Regions from separate parts of the Homo sapiens genome. Here regions 1 and 3 are each linked to region 2. Evidence: promoter capture Hi-C in 16 types of primary human blood cells and fetal thymus (Javierre and others, 2016). All regions are on one chromosome and are shown on one strand. The core of a region is centred on a gene start or on the middle of the fragment in contact, and the rest is flanking DNA. Distances in the headings are between cores, read along the strand shown.

What was found. The method cuts DNA at HindIII sites, captures the fragments that hold promoters and counts their contacts. A CHiCAGO score of 5 or more calls a contact.
Region 1: the fragment with the promoter of MAGEA1 here is called in contact with the fragment with the promoter of PNMA3 in region 2 in 16 of 17 cell types (M1 macrophages, M0 macrophages, non-activated CD4 T cells and 13 more); the score reaches 16.2 in M1 macrophages.
Region 3: a fragment that was not itself captured here is called in contact with the fragment with the promoter of PNMA3 in region 2 in 8 of 17 cell types (M2 macrophages, non-activated CD4 T cells, naive B cells and 5 more); the score reaches 9.6 in M2 macrophages.

The regions. Positions count from the first base shown.
Region 1 is chrX:153,177,344-153,180,540 of GRCh38, forward strand. It overlaps MAGEA1 (MAGE family member A1), which reads left to right and starts at 1,941. Exons shown (of 3, transcript NM_004988.5): 1 at 1,941-2,022. The HindIII fragment of the contact is 9,739 bases long and covers 1-3,197 here.
Region 2 is chrX:153,054,521-153,057,719 of GRCh38, forward strand. PNMA3 (PNMA family member 3) reads left to right here and starts at 1,950. Exons shown (of 2, transcript NM_013364.6): 1 at 1,950-2,118; 2 at 2,430-3,199. The coding sequence starts at 2,536. The HindIII fragment of the contact is 3,087 bases long and covers 377-3,199 here.
Region 3 is chrX:153,161,290-153,164,417 of GRCh38, forward strand. No RefSeq gene overlaps it. Among named protein-coding and RNA genes, the nearest start is that of MAGEA1, 16 kb to the right of the region's middle. The HindIII fragment of the contact is 2,933 bases long and covers 115-3,047 here.

The DNA of each region.
Region 1 (3,197 bases), core at 691-3,190, 120 kb after region 2:
CTTCACATCATTACACAGTCTGAGGCAGCTCCTCAAAACATGATGCTAGTAGCCCTAGGGCAACAGCAGGACACCAGTTAAACAGGGCTGGTTAAGACAGTATGGATCAAGAGTTCCACTAATAACAACCAGACACCAACATAGTGGGTGAGAAATTGTGTTTCAAAAAAAATTATTTCAACAGAACGTAAAGAATGGAAAAGAAGTAGAATAGGATATAAGAGTGAATCATGCATACTACTGGTAGGTATTCTTTCCTAGAAATAAATACATATATATATACAGCTACCTACATATATCCTTGGAAGATACGAAAAGTGTATTTCTTTTTCATTTTTTAAATTTTTTGAGACAGAGTGTCACTCTGTCGCGAGGCCCACGCTAGAGTTCAATGGCACGATCTCGCCTCACTGCAAACTCCGCCTCCAGGTGCAAGCGATTCTCACGCCTCAGCCTCCTGAGCACTACCACACCCAGCTAATTTTTGTATTTTGTGTAGAGACGGGGTTTCACCATGTTGGCCAGGCTGGTCTTGAACCCCTGACCTCAAGTGATCTGCCCGCCTCGGCCTCTCAAACTGTTGGGATTACAGGCGTGAACCACCGTGCCTGGGAGTAAAACATATTACTTTGAGGACAAAAGGTTTGCCAAGTGTAGCTCTGGCTGGAGAGAAGCCCCCGTGGGAAGGTGTGCGTCTTCTCCCAGAGGTCACTACAATCGCGGGAGCTGCCACTCTGCAGGGAGCACCTGGCCTGGGACCTGCAGCCATTCTCTGCAATGGGTGCAGCTGGGCAAATGCTCAGAGATGGCAGAAACAGCATCTCCCGCCCATGACTTCAACAAAGTGCCAGGAGCCGGGAGGAGGACCTTCCTGAGTGGGGACAGAGGGTCCACTCTCCCGACGTAGATGGGCCACAGAATGCAGCTCAGCCCCTCCTGTCAGCCCTGGAAGACCCTGGCAATGTTACCACGACCACACCCCCCCTCCCATTGCCACCTCATGGGACTGGGGGCCAGAGACTTGGTGGGAGAGAAGCAGACACAATCGGCAGAGAATATGGGTGTCCAGATTCTGCCAGGCATGAAAGTCAGGACCCTGAGGGGTGACCGAGGGTCCCCCAACCCCACGCCCAACCCCACTACCACCAACACGACGACTTAAGCCCCGGGGCACCACTGGCATCCCTCCCCCTACCACCCCCAATCCCTCCCTTTACGCCACCCATCCAAACATCTTCACGCTCACCCCCAGCCCAAGCCAGGCAGAATCCGGTTCCACCCCTGCTCTCAACCCAGGGAAGCCCAGGTGCCCAGATGTGACGCCACTGACTTGAGCATTAGTGGTTAGAGAGAAGCGAGGTTTTCGGTCTGAGGGGCGGCTTGAGATCGGTGGAGGGAAGCGGGCCCAGGCTCTGTAAGGAGGCAAGGTGACATGCTGAGGGAGGACTGAGGACCCACTTACCCCAGATAGAGGACCCCAAATAATCCCTTCATGCCAGTCCTGGACCATCTGGTGGTGGACTTCTCAGGCTGGGCCACCCCCAGCCCCCTTGCTGCTTAAACCACTGGGGACTCTGAAGTCAGAGCTCGTGTGATCAGGGAAGGGCTGCTTAGGAGAGGGCAGCGTCCAGGCTCTGCCAGACATCATGCTCAGGATTCTCAAGGAGGGCTGAGGGTCCCTAAGACCCCACTCCCGTGACCCAACCCCCACTCCAATGCTCACTCCCGTGACCCAACCCCCTCTTCATTGTCATTCCAACCCCCACCCCACATCCCCCACCCCATCCCTCAACCCTGATGCCCATCCGCCCAGCCATTCCACCCTCACCCCCACCCCCACCCCCACGCCCACTCCCACCCCCACCCAGGCAGGATCCGGTTCCCGCCAGGAAACATCCGGGTGCCCGGATGTGACGCCACTGACTTGCGCATTGTGGGGCAGAGAGAAGCGAGGTTTCCATTCTGAGGGACGGCGTAGAGTTCGGCCGAAGGAACCTGACCCAGGCTCTGTGAGGAGGCAAGGTGAGAGGCTGAGGGAGGACTGAGGACCCCGCCACTCCAAATAGAGAGCCCCAAATATTCCAGCGCCGCCCTTGCTGCCAGCCCTGGCCCACCCGCGGGAAGACGTCTCAGCCTGGGCTGCCCCCAGACCCCTGCTCCAAAAGCCTTGAGAGACACCAGGTTCTTCTCCCCAAGCTCTGGAATCAGAGGTTGCTGTGACCAGGGCAGGACTGGTTAGGAGAGGGCAGGGCACAGGCTCTGCCAGGCATCAAGATCAGCACCCAAGAGGGAGGGCTGTGGGCCCCCAAGACTGCACTCCAATCCCCACTCCCACCCCATTCGCATTCCCATTCCCCACCCAACCCCCATCTCCTCAGCTACACCTCCACCCCCATCCCTACTCCTACTCCGTCACCTGACCACCACCCTCCAGCCCCAGCACCAGCCCCAACCCTTCTGCCACCTCACCCTCACTGCCCCCAACCCCACCCTCATCTCTCTCATGTGCCCCACTCCCATCGCCTCCCCCATTCTGGCAGAATCCGGTTTGCCCCTGCTCTCAACCCAGGGAAGCCCTGGATGGCCCGATGTGAAACCACTGACTTGAACCTCACAGATCTGAGAGAAGCCAGGTTCATTTAATGGTTCTGAGGGGCGGCTTGAGATCCACTGAGGGGAGTGGTTTTAGGCTCTGTGAGGAGGCAAGGTGAGATGCTGAGGGAGGACTGAGGAGGCACACACCCCAGGTAGATGGCCCCAAAATGATCCAGTACCACCCCTGCTGCCAGCCCTGGACCACCCGGCCAGGACAGATGTCTCAGCTGGACCACCCCCCGTCCCGTCCCACTGCCACTTAACCCACAGGGCAATCTGTAGTCATAGCTTATGTGACCGGGGCAGGGTTGGTCAGGAGAGGGCAGGGCCCAGGCATCAAGGTCCAGGCATCCGCCCGGCATTAGGGTCAGGACCCTGGGAGGGAACTGAGGGTTCCCCACCCACACCTGTCTCCTCATCTCCACCGCCACCCCACTCACATTCCCATACCTACCCCCTACCCCCAACCTCATCTTGTCAGAATCCCTGCTGTCAACCCACGGAAGCCACGGGAATGGCGGCCAGGCACTCGGATCTTGACGTCCCCATCCAGGGCTGATGGAGGGAAGGGGCTTGAACAGGGCCTCAGGGGAGCAGAGGGA
Region 2 (3,199 bases), core at 700-3,199:
GGAGGTTGCTTCCTTCATGCTGTATTATGTTTTTCACTTTACAAGTAATAATGTTTATCCATCAGTTCCCCAACTTTGGTGCTGCTGTGTTATCTACCATGCAAGGAGATGGGGAAGCAAAAGTAATTAAGACATTTCCACTGGTTTCAAGGGCAAAGGTTAACTCCAATATAAAGGAGTTCTAAAACTTTTCAAATTGGACATATTCACATCTATTGTCTTGATACCAGTGTTTCCAAATCCTTTTTTCCCAATGCCCAGAACATCCACAGATCACTGCGTCTGTCTGGGAACTTCACAGGCTTCTTTCCGGAGACATTCCAGACACGCCCCTCTGCCTTGGCATGAATACTTGGCATCTCCCCTTGACATCTCAAGCTTTGTCATTTACTCACTGTGTGACCTTGGGCCAGTAGTGTCCCTTCTCTGAACCTCTGTTTCCACCCCTGCAAGTTGGGCAGATGAAGGTTCAGTTTGAAGCTGGTTGAGCCCTTGGAGTGACAAAGCAAGGGACTGTGAATGGACAAAAATGAGAGAAATAAATTCTAATAGGCATGAAGCAACCAGGGGAGAAATAGTCCCAATTCTACCCAAAGACTGATGGGCACTAATTTAGAATCCAGTCTCAATTCTACCTTCAATACGGTGTGTGACCTTGAAAATGTCTCTTAATCTCTCTGAGCCTCATGAGTCAAATCAGGATAATGTTAATACCTGCTTCAGAGTTCTGGTGAGGAGCAAATGAAATAACTCCTGTAAAGATGTTTCAGGAATTCTGTCTGACCAGGAAAAAGCCCTTGGGGCCATTTCTTCTTGGTCCCTGACAAGTGCCAGGCTGACGAGCAGAACTCAGGGTGGGGCAGGAAGTCAGTGGACAGTTTTGTGCCCCACTCACTGCAAGGTGGCCTCCCAGACTTGGCTGGATGGGTGAACCTGGCCTGAAAATCAACCACAAGCCCCTTTTCGTTGTGTTTGGAGAGGAGCTGAAGCTGTGTGAATAGGAGTTGAGCATGCGGCTGGCAGAGCAGGCAGGACCCACAGAACACCTGGGCCCACTGCCTGAGGGACAGTCACTCCCTTCTTCATTTGGCTGCTGCCCTGGGATCAAACGGATACAATAGAACCCACGGCGCACGGCTGCCAAGGAAGGGCAGGCCCAAGGGATTGGGCTCCAAGTCCTGGAAGTGGTTTCCCAAGTCACTAGATTTGCAGCGCACAAAACCGGAAAGGTCCCGGTAAACCTGTCCACTGGCACCTGGGCAGCGAAGCGCTTTGGCCGGAGGGCCTCAGGTCCCAGCAGCGGGATGGACAGCGGGGAGATGGCTGACCCTCCTTGGGGTGGTGTGCGTGACCTGCATGAGTGCCTGGGGCATCTCCTGCACGGAATGGCACCCGCACCAGGTGCCCCTGGCCTCGCCAGCCAGAGGACCAGTCCTGGACGGGGAGGGGGAGGACAAGAGCAGGTGAACAGGCCCCAGAACCCGGCTCCCTGACCCTGGCCATAATGCAGAGCTGCCTGGCGCACCTCAGACCACTCCCTGGCCCTCTGGTGGGCACGCCGGGGTGCAGACCCCTCGCCCCGCTGGCACCTCCGTGGCACGTGCGGGAGGGGCAGGAGCCGGGACCAGGAACCGCTGTGGTGAGAGCCAAAGGCACGGGGACTGGCCGCCACAGACCTTTGGCCACCGCAGTGGGGATGGGGGTGGGCGGGCGCTTGTGTGCCCGGGGGCCCGGGGGCCCCCGTGGCGGGGGGGCTAGGGGAGAGGAGCAGGTGACGTCACCCGGGGACCTGGGGCCCCCAGGGGCGGCGGCGAGAGCCCGACCTCGTGACCCGTCCGCGCCAATGGCCCTGCGGTCTCCCGGACGACGCGGAGGGGTCCGCGCTGCACCGCCGCCGCGCCCCCGCCCCGTGTCCGCACTGCAGAGAGCCGCGGCGAGCAGGCGCCGGCGCACTGGCCCACGTGCTGCGCGAGCGAGGGAGAGCCACAGTCTGAGCGAACGTCCGCGCTGGGAGCCAGGGGTGCCCGACCCCCGTCCGCCGCCGCCGCCGCCGCCGCGCATAGCCCCCGGAGAGCCCTCTGGGGACCCCGACCAGAAGGGACCTTGCCCTGGGAGAAGGTAACAGACCCACCTGGGGAGGGAGACGCTGGGCCCCGGGAGACTCCGCCGCCCCTCGCCTGTCCGCCCTATCAGAACTGAAGCAGCCTGCAGGGCAGGGGTCCAGGGTCCTGGGGCAGCGCGGGGAGGGGGCTGAGGCCCGCAGAGACCCCACGGGGGGTGGGGGTGGGGGGCTGGGCAGGGGCGGGGCCTGGCTGCAGAGGCGCCGCCCGGGGAGGAGGGCGGCTGGGGGTGGGGGTGGGGGTGGGCGTGGATGTGGGCGTGCGGAGAGGTGGGCATTAACCTCGCTCTCGCCCTGCTCGCATTCACAGGCTGTGGAGACCTGGGCCTTCTGCGATCACCCTAGGAGTTGATCCAGATATGTGCCTCACGCCCTGATCACTCCCCCCAAATTAGTATCCGCAGAGATTCGAGGACATGCCGTTGACCTTGTTACAGGACTGGTGTCGGGGGGAACACCTGAACACCCGGAGGTGCATGCTCATCCTGGGGATCCCCGAGGACTGTGGCGAGGATGAGTTTGAGGAGACACTCCAGGAGGCTTGCAGGCACCTGGGCAGATACAGGGTGATTGGCAGGATGTTTAGGAGGGAGGAGAACGCCCAGGCGATTCTACTGGAGCTGGCACAAGATATCGACTATGCTTTGCTCCCAAGGGAAATACCAGGAAAGGGGGGGCCCTGGGAAGTGATTGTAAAACCCCGTAACTCAGATGGGGAATTTCTCAACAGACTGAACCGCTTCTTAGAGGAGGAGAGGCGGACCGTGTCAGATATGAACCGAGTCCTCGGGTCGGACACCAATTGTTCGGCTCCAAGAGTGACTATATCACCAGAGTTCTGGACCTGGGCCCAGACTCTGGGGGCAGCAGTGCAGCCTCTGCTAGAACAAATGTTGTACCGAGAACTAAGAGTGTTTTCTGGGAACACCATATCCATCCCAGGTGCACTGGCCTTTGATGCCTGGCTTGAGCACACCACTGAGATGCTACAGATGTGGCAGGTGCCCGAGGGGGAAAAGAGGCGGAGGCTGATGGAATGCTTACGGGGCCCTGCTCTCCAGGTGGTCAGTGGGCTCCGGG
Region 3 (3,128 bases), core at 331-2,830, 110 kb after region 2:
AGCAATTGTCTACCACAGCTGAGAGTCACATGATTACCTGTTGTTGGTGGCTGTTGGCAAGGGGGTTTTTTCTTTAGGGACACAGGAAGATTTGCCTAAAAAGGTCAGAAAGCTTTGACATCCATTATTTTATTATAAAGGTCCTCTACAGCTTTGGTGGTATAATATTTCGGGCCTTTACTTTTCTCATTCCACTCTTTATTTTAAGCCTGAGCTTGTGGGTCCTTGGAGAAGGAGAGAAAATATTTAAACTCTGATCAACTAATTTAACTATGTATATAACATGTAGAATAAATAAAGACTTAAATGAAAGCATAGCATTTACGAAAGCTCCAACAAATTAAAAGGTAATTTAAACGATTGATTTCTGGTTTTAGTGACTTGTTGTTAACAAATTAAAGCAGTTTGTGAAAATAAACTCAGTTACATTTTTTGCTTGTATAAGTTCAAAATCGTAATTCCTTTCCAAAGCTGAACATGCCTGAAATGGGTCTGCCAATCATCACAATAAAACAGGAAGCCCGAATGCAAGAGCTAGTTAAGATGGGTTCCCAAGCAAATAGTAGTTGAAGCTCCAACGGCCGTAAAATGATGAAAGAAACATGGTTTAAGAGCCATGGATAATTTTTTTGAATGCCAAAAGAGTTATCATAGACTGATTTGACATAGAGATTTTAATGGAAATGTCATGGCATCAAAATAAGGTGCCAGTAAGCAAATCAGTTCTTGAATGTAATTTTGAAACACACTGTGCAAAATTGCTCAGTGCAATGATGTACACTGATCCAAAAAGTGACCACTGACAAGACATGGTTTATTTCGGTTTTTAATCTATTATGGAAAAAACGAATTTCTCTTTGGAAAGAGCTATACGACCATGTCCAACGTGATTTCCTAAAAAGACAGCAGGATGTTTTCCTTCTGACCAGCTTCCCACCCATAAATGCAAATATTATTGTTCAGGGTTGATGGAGCATTTGCAAATCAAGAGGCTTTGATTTACATCCAGCATGCTCATTCTTCGATGGTAGATCCATATAAGAACTACAAAAGACATAGAAGATACTAGAATACATTGTTGGAGTTCAGGATGTGGGACAATGCCCTGTGTCTGTTGTACAGTGTCCCAGATTTTTCAGGATTTCATAGGAGGCAGCTACAACGTACACATGCAAAGCCCTGAAATGCCTTCCTTAGCTAATGAAGTGGAGCCCTGACGTCACCTAGGAAAGGGATGCAACAGAACTCATTTATAGTTTCTCAAATGATGCTCCCATTTCTTCAAAGCCACCATTAATCTTAACACCTTTAAAGCTATAATAACAATCTATGTAACAAGTGGAAAATGCTTATAGAATCAGTGCTTTCCATCACAAACCCTTATTGTATGGAAATTCACATTTCCATAATCACATAAAGGTAAAAAATGTTATTCATTATGAAGCTAAAAGGTATGAATTTCTCTGTCATAATACTTACTGAAAACTGGAAACTGAATTGTGAAAATTTTGTACTTTATTCTTCTTAAAATGATAGTTTCCTTTCTCTGTTTGCCTGTGAAGCACGCTTCAACAATAACACCTTACCTTCCAATACAAATGATGGTACACAAAACACACACAGGCACACACACACACACACACACACACATATATATATACACACATATATACATATATATGCATAGTAGAAAAGACCTATGTGTTTCTAATGTATGGAAATGGGAAATGTACATCCAGTCTTCTCAGTTGCAAAAATAAAGCAGTTTTTAAGTAGATAGTTTTGGCTTTACTTTGAATAGATTTGTATCAACTTTGAATTTTTTTCTTAATTATATTAGATTGTAGGGAGGGGACTCTGTAAGGAAGGATGATGCAAAGGATTCTTCCACCAGTTTATATGAACCAAAAGGTTTTGTGACAGTGAAACATAAGTAGTGTATTAGAGTTCTCTAGAGGGACAGAACTAGTAAGATAAATGTGTGTGTGTGTGTGTGTGTGTGTGTATACATTTCATATATCTATAGATTTCATAGATATATGTATATATATGAATGTATAGATATTTTATATATATATATATATATATGAGAAAGGGAATTTATTAAGGATAATTGACTCACAGGATGACAACATAAAGTCCCACCATAAGCTGTCTGCAAGTTGAGGAGCAAGGAAGCCAGTAGTGGATCAGTCCAAGTCCCAAAACCTCAAAACCTCAAAAGTAGGGAAGCCAACAGTGCAGCCTTCAGTCTGTGGTGGAAGGCCCGAGAGCCCCAGGAAAACCACTAGCATAAGACCAAGAGTCCAAAAGCCAAAGCAGTTGGAGTCTAATGTTGGAGAGCAGGAAGCATCCAGCATGGGGAAAGATGAAGGCCAGAAGACGCAGCAAGTCTGCTCATTCCACCTTCTTCTGCCTGCTTTTGTCTAGCTGTGTTGGCAGGCAAGGGGATGGTGCCCACCCAGATTAAGGGTTGGTCTGCCTCTCACAGTCCACTGGCTCAAATGTTAATCTCCTCTAGCAACACCCTCGCAGACACATCTAGAAACCACACTTTGCATCCTTCAATCCAATCAAGTTGACACTTAATATTATCCATCACAAGTAGGTAGAATCCAGTTCTTGGTACTTGATTTAAGCACCATCAAGATCCCATAAAGGCGGAAACCTTACAAGAAGCCAAGTCATCCTGTTAAGGGGAAATTTGTCTCCAGTGCTCAATCCTGACCTAATCCTCATCCTCCATGTCTGGTTAACTGAGGACTTGTCCATCTGACCCCAACCCCGCAACACCCACCTTCCTCCCTTCCCACACACCACGTCTTCCCTCCTTCCTCTCTTCCCACCATCCGAGAAGGAGCAGACCCACACATCATTTTACAACAAGTTCATTTTATTTTCATCACCATGGGGCATACCCTGTGGGATCTAAAATGTACTCTAGACCCCATTGACTATTTATCTGGGGCCAGATCTCTGGAGACTTCTCAAATAGATCTGAGGTCTCTGGCCTTGCCCTGAAATTAATGGCTGCCCAGGGAGAAGCTTCAGGTGGTGGAGGTCTCCTGGCTCTTTTGGTGTTGCTGTGGCTCATTTTGATTGAGTTTCTCATTCAGCTGGTCACAGTG